Linked DNA regions of Homo sapiens: all the other regions are linked to region 2. Evidence: promoter capture Hi-C in 16 types of primary human blood cells and fetal thymus (Javierre and others, 2016). All regions are on one chromosome and are shown on one strand. The core of a region is centred on a gene start or on the middle of the fragment in contact, and the rest is flanking DNA. Distances in the headings are between cores, read along the strand shown. Region 1 overlaps ARHGAP24 (Rho GTPase activating protein 24). Region 2 holds the start of ARHGAP24 (Rho GTPase activating protein 24). Region 3 has its middle 160 kb from the start of WDFY3. Region 4 has its middle 220 kb from the start of WDFY3. Region 5 has its middle 200 kb from the start of WDFY3.

Evidence for each region. Contacts are between HindIII fragments. The CHiCAGO score rates a contact against its expected background, and 5 or more counts as called.
Region 1: a contact is called between a fragment that was not itself captured here and the fragment with the promoter of ARHGAP24 in region 2, in 3 of 17 cell types (total B cells, naive B cells and monocytes). The highest score is 22.7, in total B cells.
Region 3: a fragment that was not itself captured here is called in contact with the fragment with the promoter of ARHGAP24 in region 2 in 1 of 17 cell types (total B cells); the score reaches 5.8 in total B cells.
Region 4: a fragment that was not itself captured here is called in contact with the fragment with the promoter of ARHGAP24 in region 2 in 2 of 17 cell types (naive B cells and total B cells); the score reaches 6.5 in naive B cells.
Region 5: a contact is called between a fragment that was not itself captured here and the fragment with the promoter of ARHGAP24 in region 2, in 2 of 17 cell types (total B cells and naive B cells). The highest score is 6.0, in total B cells.

What each region holds. Positions count from the first base shown.
Region 1 is chr4:85,776,606-85,779,305 of GRCh38, forward strand. The region is part of intron 3 of ARHGAP24 (Rho GTPase activating protein 24); the gene reads left to right. Among named protein-coding and RNA genes, the nearest start is that of MIR4451, 55 kb to the left of the region's middle. The HindIII fragment of the contact is 2,310 bases long and covers 294-2,603 here.
Region 2 is chr4:85,473,705-85,476,404 of GRCh38, forward strand. It overlaps ARHGAP24 (Rho GTPase activating protein 24), which reads left to right and starts at 1,446. Exons shown (of 10, transcript NM_001025616.3): 1 at 1,446-1,855. The HindIII fragment of the contact is 5,990 bases long and covers 736-2,700 here.
Region 3 is chr4:85,122,109-85,124,808 of GRCh38, forward strand. No RefSeq gene overlaps it. Among named protein-coding and RNA genes, the nearest start is that of WDFY3, 160 kb to the left of the region's middle. The HindIII fragment of the contact is 2,725 bases long and covers 1-2,648 here.
Region 4 is chr4:85,182,125-85,184,937 of GRCh38, forward strand. No RefSeq gene overlaps it. Among named protein-coding and RNA genes, the nearest start is that of WDFY3, 220 kb to the left of the region's middle. The HindIII fragment of the contact is 2,375 bases long and covers 348-2,722 here.
Region 5 is chr4:85,164,357-85,167,056 of GRCh38, forward strand. No RefSeq gene overlaps it. Among named protein-coding and RNA genes, the nearest start is that of WDFY3, 200 kb to the left of the region's middle. RefSeq lists an enhancer at 2,300-2,700. The HindIII fragment of the contact is 657 bases long and covers 1,046-1,702 here.

The DNA.
Region 1 (2,700 bases), core at 199-2,698, 300 kb after region 2:
ACCAAAATTGCTAGTTCCTTCTTTGTTTAGCCTATTTTAGGAGACTTTGGTTCTTGAATTCAATACCCATAATCTATTGTCTATGGCTCAGCCCACTCCTGTTCTAAACAATCTGTGACTTCTCTTCACTCTTTCCTTCCTTCCTGCAGCCATTTAACCCTCTGAATCACCTTGACTCATTCCATGTAAAACTCTATGTCTCCTCAAGGCCTATTACCTTACAAGGTCTTACTCATATTTCCTTCCTGCTCTTTCTAATGGACTAAAGGTAAAACTGTCAATATCGAAAGTAAAGCTTAAGAAGTAAAAGGAAAATACAGAATATTTTTAGCAAATGCAAGTAATATGTATCAATGTGTCCAACTCTTGTCACATTTGACATATTAATGTTGCTTAACCTTTGCATAGGGCTCAAACAGACATAATCAAATGAGAATAAAAGGAAAATAAGATGCTGTCATTGTGTCAAAAACCATGGTTTTCCAAAATTTCTTTCTCAACATTTCTGTTTTGAATCTCAGTTGCTTATTTGTCAGCATTAGAAAAGTGCTATCATACCCATTAATTTCTCAACATTTTGGAAAATGTGTTCCAGAAAATCTAATTGTCATTTTAAATATTAATTACATTTTATAATTATTTGGTCATAAGCATACTGCTTCCTGCCAAAGAACAGGGCAAGAGTAGATGCCTTAAAAGTAGACGAGAAATATTAAAACCAAACAGTGCATTTCTGAATTAAAGAATAGGTAACAGTTTGAAAATAGGCCTTGAATGATCTGAGCATTTCTCATTGTGTCTTGGAATTGCAAAGTGTAAAGAAGATTTTGCTTTAAAATTTAAGGAGCCAGATCAAATGGAAAGATTAATAGTGGCCAGAGTGATTTCAGTGTGGGCCACTTCATATTTTGGTTTACTTGATCTGGGCAGGATGTTTTAAGATTGGAGCAACCCAATCGATAGGATATAAAGAAATCAAGGACACATGTTTGAAGTGTGAGAATGAATACAGAAGTAGTCATAGAGAATTGACCTTACTTCCCATGCAAACCCTTTGATTTTATTTGAAAATTCCCTACTTTTCTAAGGAAGCTATTGCTTGTCTGTTACACTATTTCACGTGGGAGGGATGAGATAGATCTTATGAATGTTCGATAAATATTTGTTAAATAAGTGAATGAATGAATGAATACATTTCAAAAAGGTAATTTTAAAAATTATTATAATAAGCACATCACTCTTTCAGTTAGAAAAACATAATTTATTCACCAATAAATAGGAAATACATGAAAGACACCAATGAAAATTGTTATGTTGCTTCTCTGTTTTATTTAACAAATTATACAATCAACAATAATCAAAACCAAATGTGTGTATTCAAAAAATCTTGATAGATTGAAAGTGGGGATTTGTGATAATAGCAAATGTGTGTCTAGTTTAAGAGCCGTGGAGTAGTATCACTGATACTAGGTAGAACACTTATTCTGCCACCTGTCACAGCACCATGCCTTACTGAAGCAGTACTCTGTAAGGACTAATAAATGTTAGCATCCCTTGAAACATGGCAGCTCCTGAGTTGTAAAAATATTCTGGACAATCAGCAAAGGAAAAGATTATTTCCTAATATACAAAGAAATTGGAGATTAAAGGGAAAGTTTCAATATTAAGGATTTTAAATCCAAAGGAAATGTTTTCTCTGAGACAGTTCTCACATCCTAATTGTGTTACTGCTCCCTGCCAATTCCTTTGCTTATTATGCAAGGATATAGAGGAAAAGGCAAACTATTTCCCCTCAGGTATGTTAGTGTAGTGGAAAAAGCATTGAAGCAGGAGTTGTGAAACCTGGTTATTTGTTAACTGTGGCACTAACTAGCCGTGTGAGTGACCTTATACAAATCATATTTTTCTCTGGGTTTCACTTCCCTTATCTACAAAATGGGTTCACCCGGCTAAATTATATTTAAGGTCCTGATGAGCTTTCTATGATTCCTATTTCTTATTTTGTTTTGTTTTGTTTCTAAATGCTCAAATACTACATTATTTAAGGTATATTTCCTTGTAGGTTTTTTTTCCCCTCTCTGTCTCTTTCTTCAATATATGGGATGGGAGGATACTGACTAAGTCTGAGAAGGAGGAGAAAGAAAATTAGCTACAGGAAGAGTTTATATCCCCTTCTACAAGAAAACTTAAATATAGCTACCACCGCTTTGAAAGGAATGGTTTGTGTCCAAACAGCATTTTCCAGACAAGCTCTGTACTTTTTTGCCAAAAGAATTAACTTTAAACTGAAGGCAGTGGACAGTTAAACAAGAGTCGGCACTGGGAACAGCTGTGCGTAGACCAGACCAGTGACTTATAAGGTACTGTTTTTACTCATTTAAATCTTCAGGGTTCATTTGTTTTGGGGACAAGTATTTAGTGGTCATTTGACCTTTTTTTCCTCCCTCTTCACCTCTATTTTGAGAGAAAATATACCCTTGAAAATATTTTAGCTTTTTAACTGTATTATTTTCTGGCTGTTGATATTTGAAACTACTCGGATTTTGCTTTGTTTTGTTAGTGTTTTTAGGAACCAGATGATTGTTGCTGTTGTTTTATTTTAAAGCTTAGTTTAGGTTTGTTTCTTTGTTGTATCTTGTCATGTGTGGTTTTTGTGTTTTATTGCTTGTGTTGGATAAAGATAAATATACTTTAGCATTA
Region 2 (2,700 bases), core at 196-2,695:
AATTTATTCCCACCAATTGGAAAATAAGCTACATTACTTCTAGCTTAGGAATTCCATACATATTTTTAAAATGAAATATGAAACGCAATTTTTTCCCCACACAAATTAATTTGATTCATTAAAGGGCTGAGAATTCTCCCACCAGAAAATCAAGTTTATAGTAGGACCTCAGCATGGGATGGGGTAGATTCGTTTCTCCAAGAACTTGGAGAAAGAGGACAAAAAGGAAAAACATATCAGTGTCCACTCAGCCTTTTATTTTTGGTGTTTCTAAAACTAAACATTTGCTCTTCTTCCATATCCCTCTCTCACTGGAGATCCCTAGTGAGGACACCCCCATTCTGTGTCTTAAGGATATCTGGTGATGATTTCTAAAAGAGAGTTTCTTTTATTAGTAGTAGCAGTAGTAATTGTTCGAGACGGGGGTGTCACTCCGTCACCTAGGCTGGAGTGCGCTGGCACAATTATAGCTCACTGCAGCCTTGACCTCCTGGGCTCAAGGGATTTTCCCGCTTCAGCCTCCTGAGTAGCTGGGACTACAGACATACGCCGCCACGCCCAACTTTTTTTTTATTTTTTTAATTTTTTTTTTATAGAGACAGGAGTCTCATTATGTTGCCAATTTTGGTCTGAAACCCCTGGGCTCAAGCGATCCTCCTGCCTCAGCCTTCCAAAGTGCTAGGATTGCATGACTGATCCACTGTAAGTGGGTTTCTAAAACAGAGATCTTTACAAAGCTTTTTGAAATAATTTGACTCAGCATGCCAGGTAACCAGAACTGTAAGATCACAATTTGAAACAGACATTGTGGTGATGGTGGGAAGAGACGGCCTGCATCAAAACAATGTTTACTAGTTTGTCCTTTTGTCCCATATTGTGTAACTCCGAGAGTTCTTACACCACCGTAAGAAAGTAATTATACTTTGAATTTCTCTAAGGCTCTAGTTAGAGAGCATCCATCTAAATGTGCATTTCCAGGAATATTGCTTTAATGGCCCAGGTAATTCTAATTGGAGAAATAAAATGTTAGCGAGACAGAGTTGGTAGAAGCAAGTAAAACCGGTGTATGGGGTTTGGCCAATGAAATGCAGAGCTCCTTGAGGGCAGGAGACATGTATTCACCAACCTTCTCGCGCCCACAGCCCCAGATCTGTGGCCAACAAGTATCTATGATGCACTTGAAAGGAACGAGCGATGCCAGATGCGGAGGAACCAGGCAGGGCGCATTCTGTCAGTGGCGCCAGGCGGTGTAGCTCCAGCTCTCAGATAACCCAGGCTTTGGGAGGGCGGGGCTCCTGCCGGCCTCCCCTGTAGTGCGGCTCGAGTCCTGTGAAGCTACCAGTTGCCAAATGAAATCTGAAACCTCGAGCTGTGTCTGAGGGTTGGCCCCACTCAGTTGTTCCAGCCTCTTGTACTGTATATTTACACATTCACACACAATCACCCTTTCTAACTTCTGGGACTCTTTGCGCAACTGCTAGGATTTCTCAAGTGCATGTGGCAACACAGCCCAGCTCCGGGTGGAAACCAGCAGGGCTCTGGAGGGGCTCGGAGACCAGGGGAGCTGTCAAGGCTGCGGCGGGGACCAGAGAGGAGCCTGGCGGGGGTGGCTGGGTGGCTGGGGGAATCCCCCCAACTTCCCATCGCAGGCGCAGCTCTCTCGGCCGCCTATTTCCTCCGAAACCCGCGCTGCGGAGCAGCCCAGTGCATAGAGTTCAACACTTCCCCTTGTTGTGGAAAGTAAAGGAGCCTCACTACCACCTTTTTTTCTTTGCGTTTTCTTACTGCTGGTCCTGGGAGCCTTTTCCTTCGGAGCAGCAGCCCTGTCCGGCATCTGTCTTGAGCTCCCAGCAAGGTAGGTGATGCGGTCGCGAGGAAGTGCGCGGAGCTACCGCGGGAAGGACGGACGCGGCTGCCTGCGCCAGGGGAGGGGGCTGCGGGGGGCGGGGAGGGGGCTGCGGGGGGCGGGGAGGGGGCTGCGGGGGGCGGGGAGGGGGCTGCGGGGGGCGGGGAGGGGGCTGCGGGGGGCGGGGAGGGATCGCAGGAATCCCGTGCTGATGTAGCCTGTCTGTGTTTGTGTGTGTGTGTGCGCGCGCGCGCATGTTTGTGCCGGGAGACAGCAAGCTGGTAGTATGTCTTTCTGGCTTTAAAAATAGATGGAATTAATAAAAACCCTTTGTACAATTCAATTTCCTCTCTTGGTATCCATCCTCCCCTTCCCCTTGTTTGTTTCCTCTAGTATCTTATAGGAGTTCCCTATGTAACAGGCGCACAAAGATAGGTTTTAATAATAAGCATATATATTTGCAAAAATATATATTTTATATGTATAAAATATGTTTTAAAATATTTATAAATATATTACATATTAGAAATATATATTATAAAATATATACATATATTTGTAAACACAAAACGTTAGGGAATCTTTGGTGAATTTGAAGCCACTCAAAAGATTTTGTCCAAATGTTTTTAAAAATAACATTTAATGATAAACATGTAATATGGTCTCGTTTTTAGAAAATACTTAAGACTACATTTATTTTATACGTACCCAAATAGAAGGGAGACAATGTTACTCTGAATTCCTTAGATAGATTTTCAGCATCAACCAGTAATAGGGAGCCCAGACTTCTTTGTAGACTATATCTCGTTTAATTCATTTGAATTAAACAAGTAATTTCTCCAAGTAATTTCTGT
Region 3 (2,700 bases), core at 36-2,535, 350 kb before region 2:
TTCCCACCTTGGCTGGGCTCAAACAAAGATCTTGTCTTTTATTTATTAATGTTTTACTTACCAAGTGTCAGACTTCACAGTTACTAGTACAGTACCCAGTAGGTTGTCTCTTAATAATGACATGTTGGTTGACTGGGTCATCAATAAATGAGGTATACATATTCAGTTAATTTGAATAACTTTAATGCAAACCTGTAAGAACAAATACATTCAAAAGCACAAATCTGGAGAGGCTACACAGGTTTTCCAGTTACATTGCCAAAACTCAATATATTACTTTATAGTCACACTTTGTAAGATTCTATTTTTGTGACATTTGAGCTGTGTTTCTAGTGTTCTGAGGAATCCAGTCGTCATGCATAAGCAAAATGTGCCATGTCAGGATATGTGCAGCATACTCACACATGGTCCAAAACTTAAGGGGAGAGTGCTCAGTTGGATGGCAGGACCTGCATTCCAAAGAATGATGACAGACTAGAAATTGGTCCATCTCCAAGCATGAAAAAAATCAAACAAAATTAAATTTAATTGCATTAATTTTAAGGTCACAACCAGCATCCAGAAAATTAACTAGTTGAAATAAAAGATGCAGAAAGCATGGGTAAGTGACATTGTAAGATAAATTGAGTAAGAGCGACTAGTCCTGAACTAAACTATTAATATGAAATTTTAATGGCAGGGAGATGTCACTTAGCCTCTGAATGTATATAATTTTAAACTATGATGTTATCTTAGTCATTTTTATTTGGATCCAGAAAAATGGAAAGCCAGATGTGTTTTACTTTATATAGAGGATTACAAAGAGTACTTATGGTATAATCTCATTTGTGTAAAAAAAAAAAGCTATATACATTTCTATATAAAATTGGCAAGATGCACAAAAAATTGATTGCTGATGGTTTCCTATGGAGAGTAGCATATAATACTTTTATACTAAACACTAGACAATAATACTACTACTAGTATTACTCCTGGTAGTACTACTCCTCCTACCACTAGGTTGGACTACCAAACCATTTGGTTTCTTTCTGGATCTGACACAGGGTGGTTCTGTCTGCCGCATGAGGGAACAGAAAAATTCCAAGTCTTTTGGCTTCTTTTATATCAAGGATCTGTATATGCCCAATGTTAAATTAGGTGTATTTACATCATAACAATTCATATTATAATTTTGTAATGAAATTCACATATGATACCGGTGCTTATGGTGCAGTAAAGTGAATTTTTTTTAGTAACCTTTGCAGCTTAGGGAAAGTTTTTAAAAGTAAATAATAATAAAGATAATTGGCTGGTTCATAGTCTTCTCATCTATTTGGTAATTCATTTCTCTATTTTTAATTCTTTTTAAATTTAATTTTTAATTTTTATGGATACATACTAGGTATATATATCTATTTAAAATCATACTTTAATAGAGGGCCAAGCACTCATCTAGTGGCTACTGAAAATGCAAGTGCTGTGACCAAAAATAGACTTTCAAGACTTTATTTTGTACTGATGAATTTATGAGCAATTCATAGCCAGTTTCTTCCCTCAGTGGTGGTCCAGAAGAACCAAAGTACTAATTTCAGTTGAAAGGTAATATTGCTGCAGTTGTTACATAAATGTACATTCTAAGGTCCTATTAACCTTCTTTTTTAATTCAATAGGTTTTTGGGGAACAGATAGTGTTTGGTTACATGAGTAAATTCTTCAGTGGTGATTTCTGAGATTTTGGTGCACCCATCACCCAAGCAGTATACACTGTACCCAGTGTGTAGTCTTTTATCCTTCACCCCACTCCCACTCTTTCCCCCAAGTCTCCAAAGTCCATTGTATTATTCTTATGTCTTTGTGCCTTTATAGCTTACCTCCTACTTATGAGTGAGAACATATGATGTTTGGTTTTCCACTCCTGAGTTACTTCGCTTAAAATAATGGTCTCCAATTCCATCCAGGTTGCTGTGAATGCCATTATCTTATTCTTTTTTGTGGCTGAGTAGTATTCCATGACACACACACACACACACACACACACACACACACATATACATACCACATTTTCTTTATCTACTTGTGGATTGATGGACATTTGGGCTTGTTCCATATTTTTGCAATTGTGAATTGTGCTGCTATAAACATGCAAGTGCAAGTTTTTTTTTTATATAATGCTTCTTTTTCTCTGGGTAGATACCAAGTAGTGGAATTGCTGGATTAAATAATATATCTACTTTTAGTTCTTTAAGGAATCTCCACACTGTTTTCCATAATGGTTGTACTAGTTTTCATTCCCAACCAAAATGTAACAGTATTCCCTTTTCACCACATCCATGCCAACATCTATTTTTTGAATTTTTGATTATGACCAGTTTTGCAGGAGTAATGTGGTATCACATTGTGGCTTTGATTTGCATTTCCCTGATAATTAGTAATGTTGAGCATTTTCCCACATGCTTTTTGGTCATTTGTATATCTTCTTTTGAGAATTGTCTACTCATGTCCTCAGCCCACTTTTTTTTTGATGGGATTGTTTTTTTTCTTGCTGATTTGTTTGAGTTCTTTGTAGATTCTGAATAGTATTCCTTTGTCAGATGTATAGACTGTGAAGATTTTCTCCTACTCTGTGGGTTGTCTGTTAACTCTGCTGATTGCTTCTTTTGCTGTGCAGAAGCTTTTTAAATTAAGCCCTATCTGTTGATCTTGGTTTTTGTTGCATTTGCA
Region 4 (2,813 bases), core at 285-2,784, 290 kb before region 2:
ACGAAACTGAAAATATTTGAATGTGAGGCTAGAGGATCAGTATCAAAGTTGAAAGATTGTTAGGTTATTGTGCATTCAGACAGCTAGGAGTCTTTTGGAGGAGTTAAAAGCCAAGCATGGTGAAAATGAGATTGACAAGATTATTACTTTAGATTACAGCGAGTTCTATAGGTTCAAGGCCTGTTTGAATGTGCACAACATCAAAGTGAAGACAGAGGCTGCAAGTGCTGATAATGTAATTTCTTAGAAGAAGGATAGTTCACCCAATAAAGATGAAATTAATCTATTTTTGGGAAAGTATGTCACAAGAATGTACATTAGGTGGCAAATAGTATGCAAGATGTTAAAGCTTTGAAGGACAAATTCAAACTTCCACTGGATAAGGATTGCAAATTTAAGCCTCTTTTATGTCAAACAGCTTTTCACCTTCAGATTATTTCACAGGTTGCAGAGTTTGTGTGGGAGGATAGAAGAATAGAAAATGTATCCATTGCCATAGCCCTGGTGGTATTATAAATCATGGCAAAAATAATCATTTATTACTTCAATCCTAACAATACTGCAGTTACATTTTTGATGTGTGTTAAAAATATATTTTTCATTAAAAATTGTGGTTAAATATACATAAATGAAATTTACTGTCTTAACCATGTGAAAGCGTATGGCTCTATACCATTAAGTACATTCATGTTATTGTGCAACCATTATCACCATTCATCTTCAGAACTTTTTCATCTTCCCCAACTGAAACTGTACCTCTATGCACTAAGTTCCTATTGCTTCTTTCCCTAGCCCCTGGCAAACACCATTCTACTTTCCATCTCTATAAATTTGACTACTTTAGGTGCCTCATATAAGTAGAATAATACAATATTTGTTCTTTTATGAATGGCTTATTTCACGTAGCATGATGTTTTCAAAGTTCCTCCAAGTTATAGCACGTGTCAGAATTTCCTTCATTTTTAACTTTGAATAATATTTCATCATATGTATATCCCATATTTTCCTTATCCATTCTTCTGTTGATGGTTGATGGATAGTTAGTTAGTTTCCACCTTTTGGCTATTATAAATACGTAATGCTGCCATGAACATGGGTATACAAATATCTGTTCAAGTCCCTGCTTTAATTCTTTTGAGTATATTCTCAGATGTGGAACTACAGGGTCATATAGTAATTCTATTTTTAATTCTTTGAGGAGCAACCATATCATTGTCCATAGTGGCTGCACCATTTCACCTTCCTACCAGCAATACACAAGGGTTCCAATTTCTGCACATCCTCCCCAAGTTATTGTCCTCTTTTTGATAATAGCTATTCTAATTAATGTGAAGTGAGATCTCACTATGGTTTTGATTTACATTTCCTTAATGATTAGTGATATTGAACATATTTTCATGTGTTTATTGGCCCTTTGTATATCTTCTTTGGATAAACGTCCATTCAAGTCTTTTGCCCATTTTAAAATCAGGGTTTTTTTTGTTGTTGAGTTGGAGTTCTTTATATATTCTGGATGTTGATCCCTTATCAGATATATAATTTGCAAATATTTTTCTCCCATTCGGTAGACTGTCATTTCACTCTATTGATGGTGTCCCTTGATGCACAAAAATTTTTAATTTTGATGACGTTTATTCATTTATTGTTTCACTTGTTGCCTGTGCTTTTGGTGTCTCTCAAGAAATCATTGCCAAACACAATGATATGAAGATTTTGCTCTGTTTTTTCTTCTACTAGTTTTATAGTTTTCATTCTTACATTGAGTTTTTAATTCAGTTTGAGTTACTTTTTGTAAATGGTTGAAGGAAAGGGTCCAGCTTCATTTTTTTGCATGTGGCTATCCATTTCCAACATTTGCTGAATGTCTTTCAATTTTAAAGAAAAATTCTCATGTATCGTATGCCTTTTGGTCTATAATTAATGCTTGCTTATATTTGATAATTTAAGTTTAATGTTAAAAAGATTAGCACATACTCTCTAGCAATACTGGATAAACACACACACACAATAAACATAAAGTCACAAGAGTTGTGTTTGCATGAGATATCACTTGGCTTCTTGGGGAAAAATATAGCAAATAAGACATTACTGGACAGATAGTCATCATCAAATTTTAGAGAAAGACTTTCCTAACATTTTAAGAAGTTGAGAAACCTCTTGGAGTTAGAGAAAAGCAAAGATAAGTGTCCTGCTTTAGCATTATAATTTAATTTCTACTGTGTATTTTTGTGATTATAAGAATAAATAATTATTTAATCAATCACAATATTTTCAAAATAAAATGGTTGTGGGCCACAGAGTTCTAGAATTTAATACCATAACTCTATTTACCAACAACTCTGATGCACATATTTTATGATTGGATATATAATTTATTTGAAATAAATTTATGATAATTTTACCTTTGACAGCTTTTCTTTAATAACTTTACATGTACTTTTAGATACTTTTAATTAAAATTTTATCATGATAATATAATTATTATAAATAAATATGTTGATACATTGGATATTCTTTAAATATATGAATATAAACTTCTTTCAGTAAGGAATCTCATAACATCTAAGGGTTAGTTTATAATTGTTTTTAGAATATACAAATCATTGTATATTTTTCCCTATCTTTCTTTTCTTGCCTCATAGCTTCAATTTCTCTTTTAGAGATTGCTATGTTCAGTTTTGGGGTATACATTCCTCCATTGCTTTAGCTGACTCCTTCAAAAAGCTTTATTTCCTTTTGTGGTTTGTAATCTTTGTGAGCTAGTCTTCAGGAGAAGCTGTTTTTCTTGGGAGTCAAGAATATTCTGCACTATG
Region 5 (2,700 bases), core at 124-2,623, 310 kb before region 2:
TTTAGGATATATATCTGAGTGCATATATATTTAGGATAGTTAGCTCTTCTTGTTGCATTGATCCCTTTACCATTATGTAATACCCTTCTTTGTCTCTTTTGACCTTTGTTGGTTTAAAGTCTGTTTTATCAGAGACTAGGACTGCAATCCCTGCTTTTTTGGGCTTTCCATTTGCTTGGTAAATCTTCCTCCATCCCTTTATTTTGAGCGTATGTATCTTTGCATATGAGATGGGTCTCCTGAATACAGCACATTGATGGGTCTTGACTCTTTATCCAATTTGCTAGTCTGTGTCTTTTAACTGAGGCATTTTGCCCATTTACATTTAAGGTTAATATTGTTATGTGTGAATTTGATCCTGTCATTATGATGCTAGCTGGTTATTTTGCTCGTTTGTTGATGCAGTTTCTTCATAACGTTGATAGTCTTTAAAATTTGGCATGTTTTTGCAGTGGCTGGTACTGGTTTTTCCTTTCCATATTTAGTGCTTCCTTTGGGAGCTCTTGTATGGCAGGCCTGGTGGTGACAAAATCTCTCAGCATTTGCTTGTCTGTAAATGATTTTATTTCCCTTCGCTTATGAAGCTTAGTTTGGCTGGATATGAAATTCTGGGTTGATAATTTTTTTCTTTAAGAATGTTGAATATTGGCCCCCTCTCTCTTCTGGCTGATAGGGTTTCTGCAGAGCGATCCACTGTTATTCTGATGGGCTTCCCTTTGTGGGTAACCCAACCTTTTTCTCTGGCTGCCCTTAACATTTTTTCCTTCTTTTCAACCTTGGTGAATCTGACAATTATGTGTCTTGGGGTTACTCTTCTTGAGGAATATCTTTGTGGTGTTCTCTGTATTTCCTGAGTTTGAGTGTTGGCCTGCCCTGCTAGGTTGGGGGAAGTTCTCCTGGATATTATCCTGAAGAGTATTTTCCAGCTTGGTTCCATTCTCCCCGTCACTTTCAGGTATATCAATCAAATGTAGATTTGGTCTTTTCTCTTAGTCCCATATTTCTTGAAGGCTTTGTTCATTTTTTTTTCACTCTTTTTTCTCTAAGCTTGTCTTCTTGCTCTATTTCATTACGTTGGTCTTCAATCACTGATAATCGTTTCTTCCACTTGATCAATTCAGCTATTGGAACTTGTGTATGCTTCACGAAGTTGTTGTGCTGCATTTTTCATCTCCATCAGGTCGTTTATATTCATTGCTACACTGGTTATTCCAGTTAGCAATTCATCTAACCTTTTTTCAAGGTTTTTAGCTTTCTTGCATTGGATTAGAACATGCTCCTTTAGCTCAGAGGAGTTTGTTATTACTCAGCTTCTGAAGCCTACTTCTGTCAATTCGTCTAACTCAGTCTCCATCCAGTTTTTTTCCCTTGCTGGCAAGGAGTTGTGATCCTTTGGAGAGAAGAGGCATTGTGGTTTTTGGAATTTTTAGTCTTTATTCACTGGTTTCTACCCATCTTTGTGGTTTTATCTACCTTTGGTCTTTGATGTTGGTGACCTACTGGTGGGGTTTTGATTTTTATGTCCGTTTTGTTGATGTTGATGGTATTCCTTTTTGTTTGTTAGTTTTCCTTCTAACAGTCAGGCCCCTCAGCTGCATGTCTGAAGGAGTTTGCTGGAGGTCCACTCCAGACCTGGTTTACCTGGGTATCACCAGCAGAGGCTGCACAACAGCAACTATTGCTGCCTGATCCTTCCTCTGGAAGCTTTGTCCCAGAGGGGCACCCACAGATGCCAGCCAGAGCTCTCCTGTATGAGGTGTCTATCAGCCCCCACTAGGAAGTGTCTCCCAGTCCAGCTACATGGGGGGTCAGGGACCCACTTGAGGAGGCAGTCTGTCTGTTATCGGAGCTCGAACGCTCTGCTGGGAGGATCACTGCTTTCTTCAGAGCTGTCAGGCAGGGACATTTAAGTGTGCTGAAGCTACTCCCACAGCTGCCCCTTACCCCGGGTGCTCTGTCCCAGAGAGATGGGAGTTTTTTTCTATAAGTCCCTGACTGGGGCTGCTGACTTTTCTTCAGAGATGCCCTGCTCACAGAGGTGGAATCTAGAGAAGCAGTTGGCCTTGCTAAGCTGTGGTGGGCCCTGCCCAGTTCAAATTTCCCAGTGGCTTTGTTTACACTGTGATCATAAAACTGCCTACTCAAGCCTCAGCAATGGCAGACACCCCTCCCCCACCAAGCTTGAGCGTCCCAGGTCAATCTCAGACTGCCACACAAGCAACGAGCATTTCAAGCCAATGGATCTTAGCTTGCTGGGTTCCGTGGGTGTGAGACCCACTGAGCCAAGCACCAGAGGGAATCTCCTGGTCTGCCAGTTGTGAAGACTGTGGGAAAAGTGCAGTATCTGGGCAGGAGTGTACTGTCCTCCTAGTATAGTCTCTCACAGCTTCCCTTGTCTAGGAAAGGGAAATCTCCTGACCCCTTGCACTTCCTGGGTGAGGCGATGCCCTGCCCTGCTTTGGCTCACCCGCCATGGGCTGCACCCACTGTCCAACCAGTCCCAATGAGATGAACCAGGTACCTCAGTTGGAGATGCAGAAATCACCCACCTTTTGTGTTGATCTTGCTGGGAGCTGTAGACCAGAGCTGTTCCTGTTTGGCCATCTTTGCCTCAGTACTTTTGATGAAATAAATTATAGTGGTCACTGTTGAATCGTTGCTTATTTCTTCCTCATCCTGTTTTCTTCTTCCTTTCTTTTT